Linked DNA regions of Homo sapiens: region 2 is linked to region 1. Evidence: promoter capture Hi-C in human tissues and cell types (Jung and others, 2019). All regions are on one chromosome and are shown on one strand. Each heading gives the region's core, a stretch centred on a gene start or on the middle of the fragment in contact. The rest is flanking DNA. Distances are from core to core; before and after follow the strand shown.

Evidence for each region. Contacts are between HindIII fragments. The study calls those that stand out against the background at their distance.
Region 2: a contact is called between the fragment with the promoter of POLR2L here and the fragment with the promoter of TALDO1 in region 1, in 9 of the 25 tissues and cell types used here (adrenal gland, dorsolateral prefrontal cortex, heart left ventricle and 6 more).

What each region holds. Positions count from the first base shown.
Region 1 is chr11:745,180-749,582 of GRCh38, reverse strand. It overlaps TALDO1 (transaldolase 1), which reads right to left and starts at 2,119. Exons shown (of 8, transcript NM_006755.2): 1 at 2,005-2,119. The coding sequence starts at 2,101. It overlaps LOC105376509 (a long non-coding RNA gene), which reads right to left. Exons shown (of 3, transcript XR_930962.3): 3 at 2,621-2,834. RefSeq lists silencers at 1,519-1,608, 1,709-1,998, 2,059-2,658 and enhancers at 1,838-2,486, 2,789-2,848, 2,487-3,135. The HindIII fragment of the contact is 22,782 bases long and covers 1-4,403 here.
Region 2 is chr11:839,385-843,787 of GRCh38, reverse strand. POLR2L (RNA polymerase II, I and III subunit L) reads left to right here and starts at 1,259. Exons shown (of 2, transcript NM_021128.5): 1 at 1,259-1,374; 2 at 3,308-4,067. The coding sequence starts at 1,280. The coding sequence ends at 3,416. TSPAN4 (tetraspanin 4) reads right to left here and starts at 936. Exons shown (of 9, transcript NM_003271.5): 1 at 873-936. RefSeq lists silencers at 264-432, 418-647, 668-757, 868-1,497, 3,726-3,775 and enhancers at 766-1,509, 1,510-2,255, 2,256-3,000. The HindIII fragment of the contact is 28,886 bases long and covers 1-4,403 here.

The sequences.
Region 1 (4,403 bases), core at 870-3,369:
CCCTCCCACAAGGAGTTAAGAACCTTCACTTCACAAACTACAGATCACAAACCCAACAGACTATTTTACAACTATATAACATTTATGAACATATACTATCAATGAATGTATTTTTTTGTTAATATTCATTAAAAAAAAATGTCACAACTTGGGTTTAGAAGATTTTTTTTTTTTTTTTTTTGAGACGGAGTTTTGCTCTGTCGCCCAGGCTGGAGTGCAGTGGTGTGATCTTGGCTCACTGCAACCTCCGCCTTCTGGGTTCAGCAATTCTCCTGCCTCAGCCTCCCAAGTAGCTGGGATTACAAGCATGCAACACCGCACCCAGCTAATTTTTGTATTTTTAGTAGAGACGGGGTTTCACCATGTTGGTCAGGCTGGTCTCGAACTCCTGACCTCGTGATCCACCTGCCTCAACCTCCCAAAGTGCTGGGATTACAGGCGTGAGCCACCTCGCTGGGCCAGAAGTTTTCTTAAAAAACAATACAAAACAAAACCAGAAACCCAGGACTCCCCAGCCCTCCTGTGGGTGTGGGTTTAGGAAAATCCATCTTTATTGGCCCTGCACTGCCAAGTGTAATGGACCTGACACTCCGCACCAGCTCTGCCCTAACTGGTGAGGGCCAGTAAGGAACAATACAGATGAGCGCTCTGTCCACCAGGCAAACTGCAAATTATTCTCAGTGCTAAGAAGGGAAAAAACTGAGCAGCAGAAAAATGTGTAGCCCCTTTTCTGGAGCTTTCTTTCTTATGAAGAGAGGTCTGGACTACAACGGGGGGGCTGTGTGTGTGAGGGATTCACAGCTCTAGCTTTGGATCTCCCAAAGAGGGGTCCGGAGCAGACTGTGGCACCCCAAGCCAGTCACTGAATCCCCATATTTTATGGTTAAGCAGCCAAACATGCCAATTCACTCTCTAGGCTCTGCTAGATAAACAATGCCCTTACTCAGTTACCAAAGAGGAATTAAAGCCTGTTTCTCAAGTCACCATGAGAAAGCAGAAAAGAGAGGAAGTCACTTCCGTATTAGGTGCTCGCAGCATTCATCCATGAAGCGTTTCATGATTTTCTTAAAAAATATTACTTGTTCTCAACAAAACATAGACACAAGGCTCGTCTACTCTGCACTGCAGAGGACAGAAGAGCTAAGTATTAATAAATAATCCTTCTTTGTATTTTCCAAGTTCTCTCCAATGTAAACAACTCAAGCCCAGGAAAATCCAGTATTTAACAGTGTACCAACCCTGTGCTTTCATGGGCACCGGCTTTTACCCACCCGGTGCGTCTGGCGGTGGCTGTCCAGCAGGCCGGGCACCTGCCGCCCACGGAGTTGTCCCACTGGGCACCGCAGGGCTCAAGGGCGATGGCAGCACTGGCAGCTTCTGGTCAGAGCTAGCTGATGTCCCCGCTCTGCAGACATCAGCCCAACAAAATTGCATCTCGCTGACCACAAACTGGCCACGTGGAAGTCAGCTCGAAGCTCTACCCTGAATCTCTCCTGAACTCAAAGGCTCTGAAAGCTGCCTCGACCCATGAAGGTGCACAGAGGGGCTCCCGCGGGCTGCCCACAGCCCGTCCCGGGTGCGGGGTCTGAGGGCGCAGCCGACCCCACCCTGGGCGGAGGGCGAGGCTGGGGCTCCGGCTTCGTGCCCCACGGCTCGCAAGGACCCGTCAGTACCGCCCGCACCGCTGACCCCAGCACCGAGCCCCTCACGGCTGACCCCAGCTCCTCACGGCTGCCCCCGGCCCTGCTCCCTCACGGCCGACCCGGGCCCCGTTCCCCTCACGGTCGCCGCTGGCCCTGCGCCTCTCACGGCCGACCCGGGCCCCGCTCCCCTCACGGCTGTCCCTGGCCCCAACATCCGGCACCTGCGCTCATTCCTCCCGGAACGAGCCGCCCGGGGCACCGCCACCCGGTCCGCGTCCCGGAACGGGAGACCCGGGGAAATCGGGGCGCCGGGGCCTCTGGAGGGCGCTTGCGCCGCGCCCGGGCTCCGCGCCGTCCTCACCGTGGAAGTCGCCCGTGTCGGCCACCACGGTGGTGAACTGCTTGAGCTGGTCCAGCGCGGACTCCATCCTCTGACGCTTCACGGGTGAGCTCGACATAGCAAGACCGAGGGGTCTGCGGCGGCGGCGGCGGCGACGGGACGGGCGCGCGGACGGCCCACAATGCCCCGCGGGCGGCTGCCAATCGGAAAGCGGCGCGGGAGGGCGAGGCCCGCTGGTCCCTGCGCGCCTGGACGAAGCCCCGCCCCCGGGGACGAAGCCCGAGCGCCACTGCCGGCCGCGCACCGCAGCTGCGGATCCTACAGGCTGGGTCTCCCCAGGTCCTCAGCAGCCGCCGCGGACGGGCCCGGGAAAACACCTGCACGACACGGGGCGGCTGGGCCTCGCCTCCTTCCTGCCCCGCGGGACGCACCGGGAGGGCTGGAGGAGATGGACCTGGCCCGGGTGCCGACTCTGCGGGGCTGAACCCGCCAGGGCCGAACCCGGCGATGCAGGATCCATGGTGGGGCCAGGACTGGGGTCGGGGGCCGCTGCAGGAAGCAGGGGAGGGAGCGGCGGGGGACGCCCTGCGGGTGCAGGAGGCAGAGCAGGGGGCGGCTGCAGAGCCCGGGCGCCGGACGCGGCGGGGAACCTGCTTCTGGGAATCTGTTCCCCTGAGTCCTAAGCCCAGAGGTGTCCGGGGGACCGAACGGCGAGGCAGGCGTAGGAGGCCCAGCTGCCCTGCTTCTTACCATCGCTGACTTGCAGAGTTCCTTGTATATTCTGATCAAGTCTCTGTCGCTTGTGTCTGCGTTGCAGACACTGTAACCGCCCCATGGGTTCGCCTTGCCAGCTGCCGGGACAGAGTCTATTGTCAAGACAGGGGAATTGCAATAGAGAAAGCATAATTCACACAGAGCCGATTGTTCGGGAGACCAGAGTTTTATTCCTCAAATCAGTCTCCCCAAAACTCGGGGATCCCAGTATTTAAGAATAATTTGGTGGGTAGGGGGCCAGTGAGTCAGAAGTGCTGACTGGTCAGCTAGGGATGAAATCACAGGGAGTCGAAGCTGTCCGCTTATGCTGAGTCAGTCCCTGGGTAGAGGCCACACAACTGGTTGGCAGGTCCAGGTGGGGCCATCCGGTTGTCAGAAATGCAAAAACCTGAAAAGACTTTTTTTTTTTTTTGAGACGGAATCTCGCCCTTGTTGCCCAGGCTGGAGTGCAGTGGCGCGATCTTGGCTAACTACAACCTCCGCCTCCCGGGTTCGAGCGATTTTCCTGCCTCAGCCTCCCGAGTAGCTGGAATTACAGGCGCTCACCACCACGCCCGGCTAATTTTTGTATTTTTAGTACAGACGGGGTTTCATCATGTTGGCCAGCATGGTCTCGATCTCCTGACCTCGTGATCCGCCCACCTCAGTCTCCCAAAGTGCTGGGATTCCAGGCGTGAGCCACCGCGCCCGGCGGAAAAGACTTCTTAAAAGGCAAATCCTAGGCTGACGCGGTGGCTCAGGCCTGGAATCCCAGCACATTGAAAGGCCAAAGCAGGCGATCACTTGAGGTCAGGAGTTGGAGACCAGCGTGGCCAACATGCAAAACCCCGTCTCTACTAAAAATACAAAATTAGCCAGGCGTGGTGGCACATGGCTGTAATCCCAGCTACTTGGGAGGCTGAGGCAGGAGAATGGCTTGAACCTGGGAGGTGGAGGTTGCAGTGAGCCGAGATTGTCCCTCTGTACACTAACCTGGGCTACAGAACGAGACTCCATTTAAAAAAAAAAAAAAGGCCAACCCTAGGTTCACAGTAGTGTTGATATCTTGGGGAAGTTGCAAATCTTATCTTATGACCTCCAGAATAATGGCTGATAATATTTAGACTTCCAGCCCCTCTCATTCTAACTTGGTGGCTGGTGGCCTTTCATTCATTTTACAAGAACAGTCTAGTTTTGGGGAAGGGCTATTATTTAAACTATAAATTAAATTCCTTCCCAAGACTTGTTTGGCCTATGGCCAGTAATGGACAAGGACCGTTTGAAGGTTAGAAACAAGATGGAATTGGTTAAGTCTGTTATCTTTCACTGTCATAATTTCCTTAGTTATAATTTTGCAAAGGTGGTTTCAATACTTCCTCTCAGCATGTGTTCCCTTTTCATTTTAATAGTGTCTTTAATGAACGTTAGCTTTTTATTTTGATTAAGTTCAATTTATCAAGTTTTAATTTTATATTTACTCCTCTTTTTTGGTATCTTCTCTAAGGAGTCTTTGCTTGCTCCAAAGTGACAAATTTTTTTTTTTTTCTGGTGAGATGGAGATTTACTCTTGTTGCCCAGGCTGGAGTGCAATGGCGCGATCTCAGCTCACCGCATCCTCCGCCTCCCAGGTTCAAGCGATTCTCCTGCCTCAGCCTCCCGAGTAGCTG
Region 2 (4,403 bases), core at 10-2,509, 95 kb before region 1:
ACCAGCCCAGAGCCCCCCATGGGTGCCGCTTTGCGGCCCACCCACCCCCACAGCCCACCTCGCACCTCCAAGGAGCCTTCTTTGCCTCTCACTGCACACCGACCCCCCATTTCCTCACCCCCACCCCAGGGGCACAGCAAGAAGGGTGCTGGTGCCAGCCCCCCCGCACTCCATCCGAGAGACACGGGCTCCTCGTCCCTCGTCGTCCGTAGGCCCTGAGCTCCAGGGCAAGCCAGAGCTGAGGCCTTCAGGGGGTCCTGCCAGTGCAGCCTCCGGGAGTCTGCCCAGGGATCCCCTGTGCCGGGGTCTTCCAGGTTCAGCTCAAAAAGCACCTCTTCCACGACTCCCTCCCCGACCTCCCTCCCGGGTCCCCTCTCCCCGTGCTCAGAGGCGCGTCTGAGCGTCGGGAGCTCGGGACGGCGAGCAGCCAGCAGAGCCGGGACCCGGGAGGGCGCACCCCGACCCCATTCCCGGGAAAGAGCGGAAAGAACGCGGACAGGAGCCCGGGGCGGGGAGCTGCCGGCGGGGGCTGTAATTGCGCAGCTGAGGCCAGGGCGGCGCCCCTAGGGGCTGGGCCGCGTCCAGAATGGGACCCCCGAACTCAGCGCCGAGAGCCCCGGACACCCCGCGGGCAGAGGCCGAGGCGGAGGAACCCACTACTCGGCGCGGCCAGGAGGGGCGGCAGGAAGACCCGCCCCGGCCCCCGCCCGCCCTCTCCCCGAGCCCCCGCGCCGGACCCCACTTGTTGCTGCGTGTCGGCTCTGGGCTCGAACTCGCGCGCCCCGCTCGCGTCCGGCTCCAGCCGCTCCCGGTCGGACACCTCCGGCCACGGGACCCTGGCCGCACGCCCCCACAACCCCCAGGCGCAGTACCTGCGCCGCCGCCTCCCGCTCGCGCCGCCCGCTCCCGCCGCGCAGCTGTCAGTCAAGCGGACACGAGAAACGCGAACCGCCGCCGCAGCTTTACGGCCCTGCTCAGACGCCGTAGCGCCGGGATGCACCAAGACGGTGGGCGGGGGTGTGCGGTCTGCTGCTGCCGCGGCCGCGCGGGCCCGGGAGCCCCGGGACGCACAGGCCCAGGAGCCCCGGGACGCACGGGAAGCCCCTATCGCGGCGGAAACTGCGGCCAGCGGTGGCGGGGCCGGTGGAGGGACGGCCGGAACAGCGGAGAACGAGCGGAGCCGATTCTCCCGCAACAGTGGACGCGCCCGGGGCGGGGCCTGGGGGGGTTCTTCGCGTGCGGCCGGGCCGGGCCGGGCAGTCTGGGACGCGCCGCCGCCATGATCATCCCTGTACGCTGCTTCACTTGTGGCAAGATCGTCGGCAACAAGTGGGAGGCTTACCTGGGGCTGCTGCAGGCCGAGTACACCGAGGGGTGAGGCGCGGGCCGGGGCTAGGGGCTGAGTCCGCCGTGGGGCGCGGGCCGGGGCTGGGGGCTGAGTCCGCCCTGGGGTGCGCGCCGGGGCGGGAGGCGCAGCGCTGCCTGAGGCCAGCGCCCCATGAGCAGCTTCAGGCCCGGCTTCTCCAGCCCCGCTCTGTGATCTGCTTTCGGGAGAACCTTATCCCCTGAAGTCTGGGGAAGAGAACGGAGTTGGGCTTCAAACCAGTGGTGTCCTGGGGATTCTAGGTGGCCTGGCGGGTCGCAGGCGTCTTGTCACCCGCAGTAAAGCCCTTGGCCTCCGCCCTATTCCCATCTCTGCCCCCAGGCCCACCCCATGTCCTGCAAACCTCGCTGCAGGACGGGCGGGCGCGGCGGCTGACATCTGTAATCCCAGCAGTTTGGGAGGCCGAGGCGAGAGGCTTGCTTGAGCCCAGGAGGTCGAGACCAGCCTGGACAACCTGGGGAGACCCTGATCTCCAGAAATTTATTTTATTTTATTTTTCTTTTTTGAGACGGAGTCTCGCTCCGTCGCCCAGGTTGGAGTGCAGTGGCGCGATCTCGGCTCACTGCAACCCCCGCCTCCTGGGCTCCAGCAATTCTCCTGTCTCAGCCTCCCGAGTAGCTGGGACTACAGGCGTGTGCCACCACGCCCGGCTAATTTTTGTATTTTCAGTAGAGATGGGATTTCGCCATGTTGGCCAGGCTGGTCTGGAACTCCTGACCTCAGGTGATCCACCCGCCTCGACCTCCCAAAGTGCTGAGGTTACAGGCGTGAGCCACCGCGCCTGGCTCTATCTTTTTAATTCGCCGGACATGGCGGTGCACACCTGTGGTCCCAGCTACTTGGGAGGCTGAGACGAGAAAATCGCTTGAGTCTGGGAGGCAGGTGGAGGTTGCAGTGAGCCAAGATCACGCCACTGCACTCCAGCCTGGAAGAGAGAGTGAAACTCCGTCTCACGCACACACACACACAGAAAAAGAAATGCAGGGTAGACTTGCTGACCACCCTCATCAGGCTTTGTAGGGGAGGCGTCTTTCTCCTGTGCTTGTCCCTTGGTGCTGCTGTCACCACGGTGCCTGAGTCTTGGTGCCCCCGCTGGAGTCTGACCCTCGCCCACTGAGTCTTCGTCACATGTGAAGCCCTGGGCTTGTGTGCGCCAGCCTGCCATCGGCACTTGGTGCAGCTTGCTGGACAAACGAGGAAAGCGAGTGGGCTGCTAGACTGAGTGGCTGGCGGCCTGTCCAGACCCTTTCCCCGGATAGGAACGGCAGGGGCCTCCCATGTGGCCTCCCCTTTCCCAAGCTTCTGTGTCTCTGCACATTGGAGCCATCGGTGTGGGAGTTTTCTGGAGGTCTTGAGGGTGACTGGAGCTAGGTCCCAGGGAAATGAAAGCTTCTAATTGGCTTGGGAAGTGGGAGAGGTGGCTCCGTGGAGAAGCAGTCTCTCTCTGATGGAAGGAAGCAGAGGTGAGGAAAGACCCCACAGCGGCAGAGCAGGGCTTGCTCTGGCTGGGGTGGGGGTGAACCAGCTAAGGGCAGGCCCCTGGAGAGCTACCCTGCCGTGGCCAGTGCTGGATGAGGTGGCTGCACATCAGCACCTTGGTGGTCTTGGTTTTCTAAGCTCCCCGCAATTACTTCGTTTTCATTTCATTTACATTTCTTACATACGTTATACACACACACGTACAGCCAGAGTAGGTGGGAGAGGAGGCTCCTCACGCTCCACCCAGGGTTCTGGGCATTTCCAGGTTACTCCAGCCAGGATCATACTGCTAGATCTCAGCTTCTGAGCCGGGTGAATCTGTTCGCCTTGCCGGTGGCGGGGGGGGTGAGGCCAGCAGGCAGTGAGAGGCAGGTTGGATGTGGGCTCCAGGCCTTTGCAGACCGTAGAGAACTCAGTTGGCCTCTGCTCCTCCCCTCGACACAGGGATGCGCTGGATGCCCTGGGCCTGAAGCGCTACTGCTGCCGCCGGATGCTGCTGGCCCACGTGGACCTGATCGAGAAGCTGCTCAATTATGCACCCCTGGAGAAGTGACCACGCTGGAACCCACCCACCCGCTGTGCTGACCATGGGCCCTGAGCGTCCTGCCCCGAATTCACGAGGCTGAGGCATCCGGGAGCTGGCGTAATGCCTGGCCGCAGTGTGTGTGTATCCGATACCCCACTCTGGAAGGAACCATCCAGTAAAGGTCTTTCAGAACCACTAAGGTCCCAGCCCTCACTAGGATGTCAGGAGCCAGGTCTAGGCCCAGCTTTCACACTGTGGCAGCCCAGTGAAGCAGACTGGGCCATGAACTCTCCTAGCCCTGGGGCCAGCCTGTTCCACAGGCACCCCTGCAGGAGGCGCTGCCAGGAGAGCCTTCCATCTCGGGGCTCTTTGAGGTTCCCTCCTTCTGGGTGTTCTTCAGGCTGAGCAGAGAGGCTCCTGTACCCTCTCTCTCGGAATCTGAAGAGCCAGATTTAGGCCGGGCAAAGGGGCTCACCCCTATAATCCCAGGACTTTGGGAGGCCAAGGCAGGAGGATCACTTGAGTCCAGAAATTCAAGACCCGCCTGGGCATCATAATGAGACCCCATCTCTACAACAAAATTTAATAAATTAGCTGGGCACAGTGTTCACACCTGTAGTCCCGGCCACTCGGGGCTGAGGCAGGAGGATCACTGGAACCTGGGAGGTTGCCACTGCAGTGAACTGTGTTTGCACCACTGCACTCCAGCCTGGGCAACAGAGTAAGACTCTGTCTCAACACAACTATGAAAAAGAAGAGAGAAACAGATTTTCTGGGGCCCAGTCTCTGCTGTGGTCAGGGCTGCCAGTACCTGCTGGCCTCTGCCCACTGCTGCCTGTCCCTGAGCGTCCCACCCAAGCCCAGCAGGGAGGGCAGGCCTTAAGACGCTCCTAGCTGGGTTGGGAGGTGGCCCTAAGGAGGCCCTGCTGTCCAGGCAGTGCTGCCAGCAAGCACCCCAGGTCAGATGTCCCTGCTGCCCAGATATCTGGCGTGGTGTCCTCTGGTAGGGGAGAA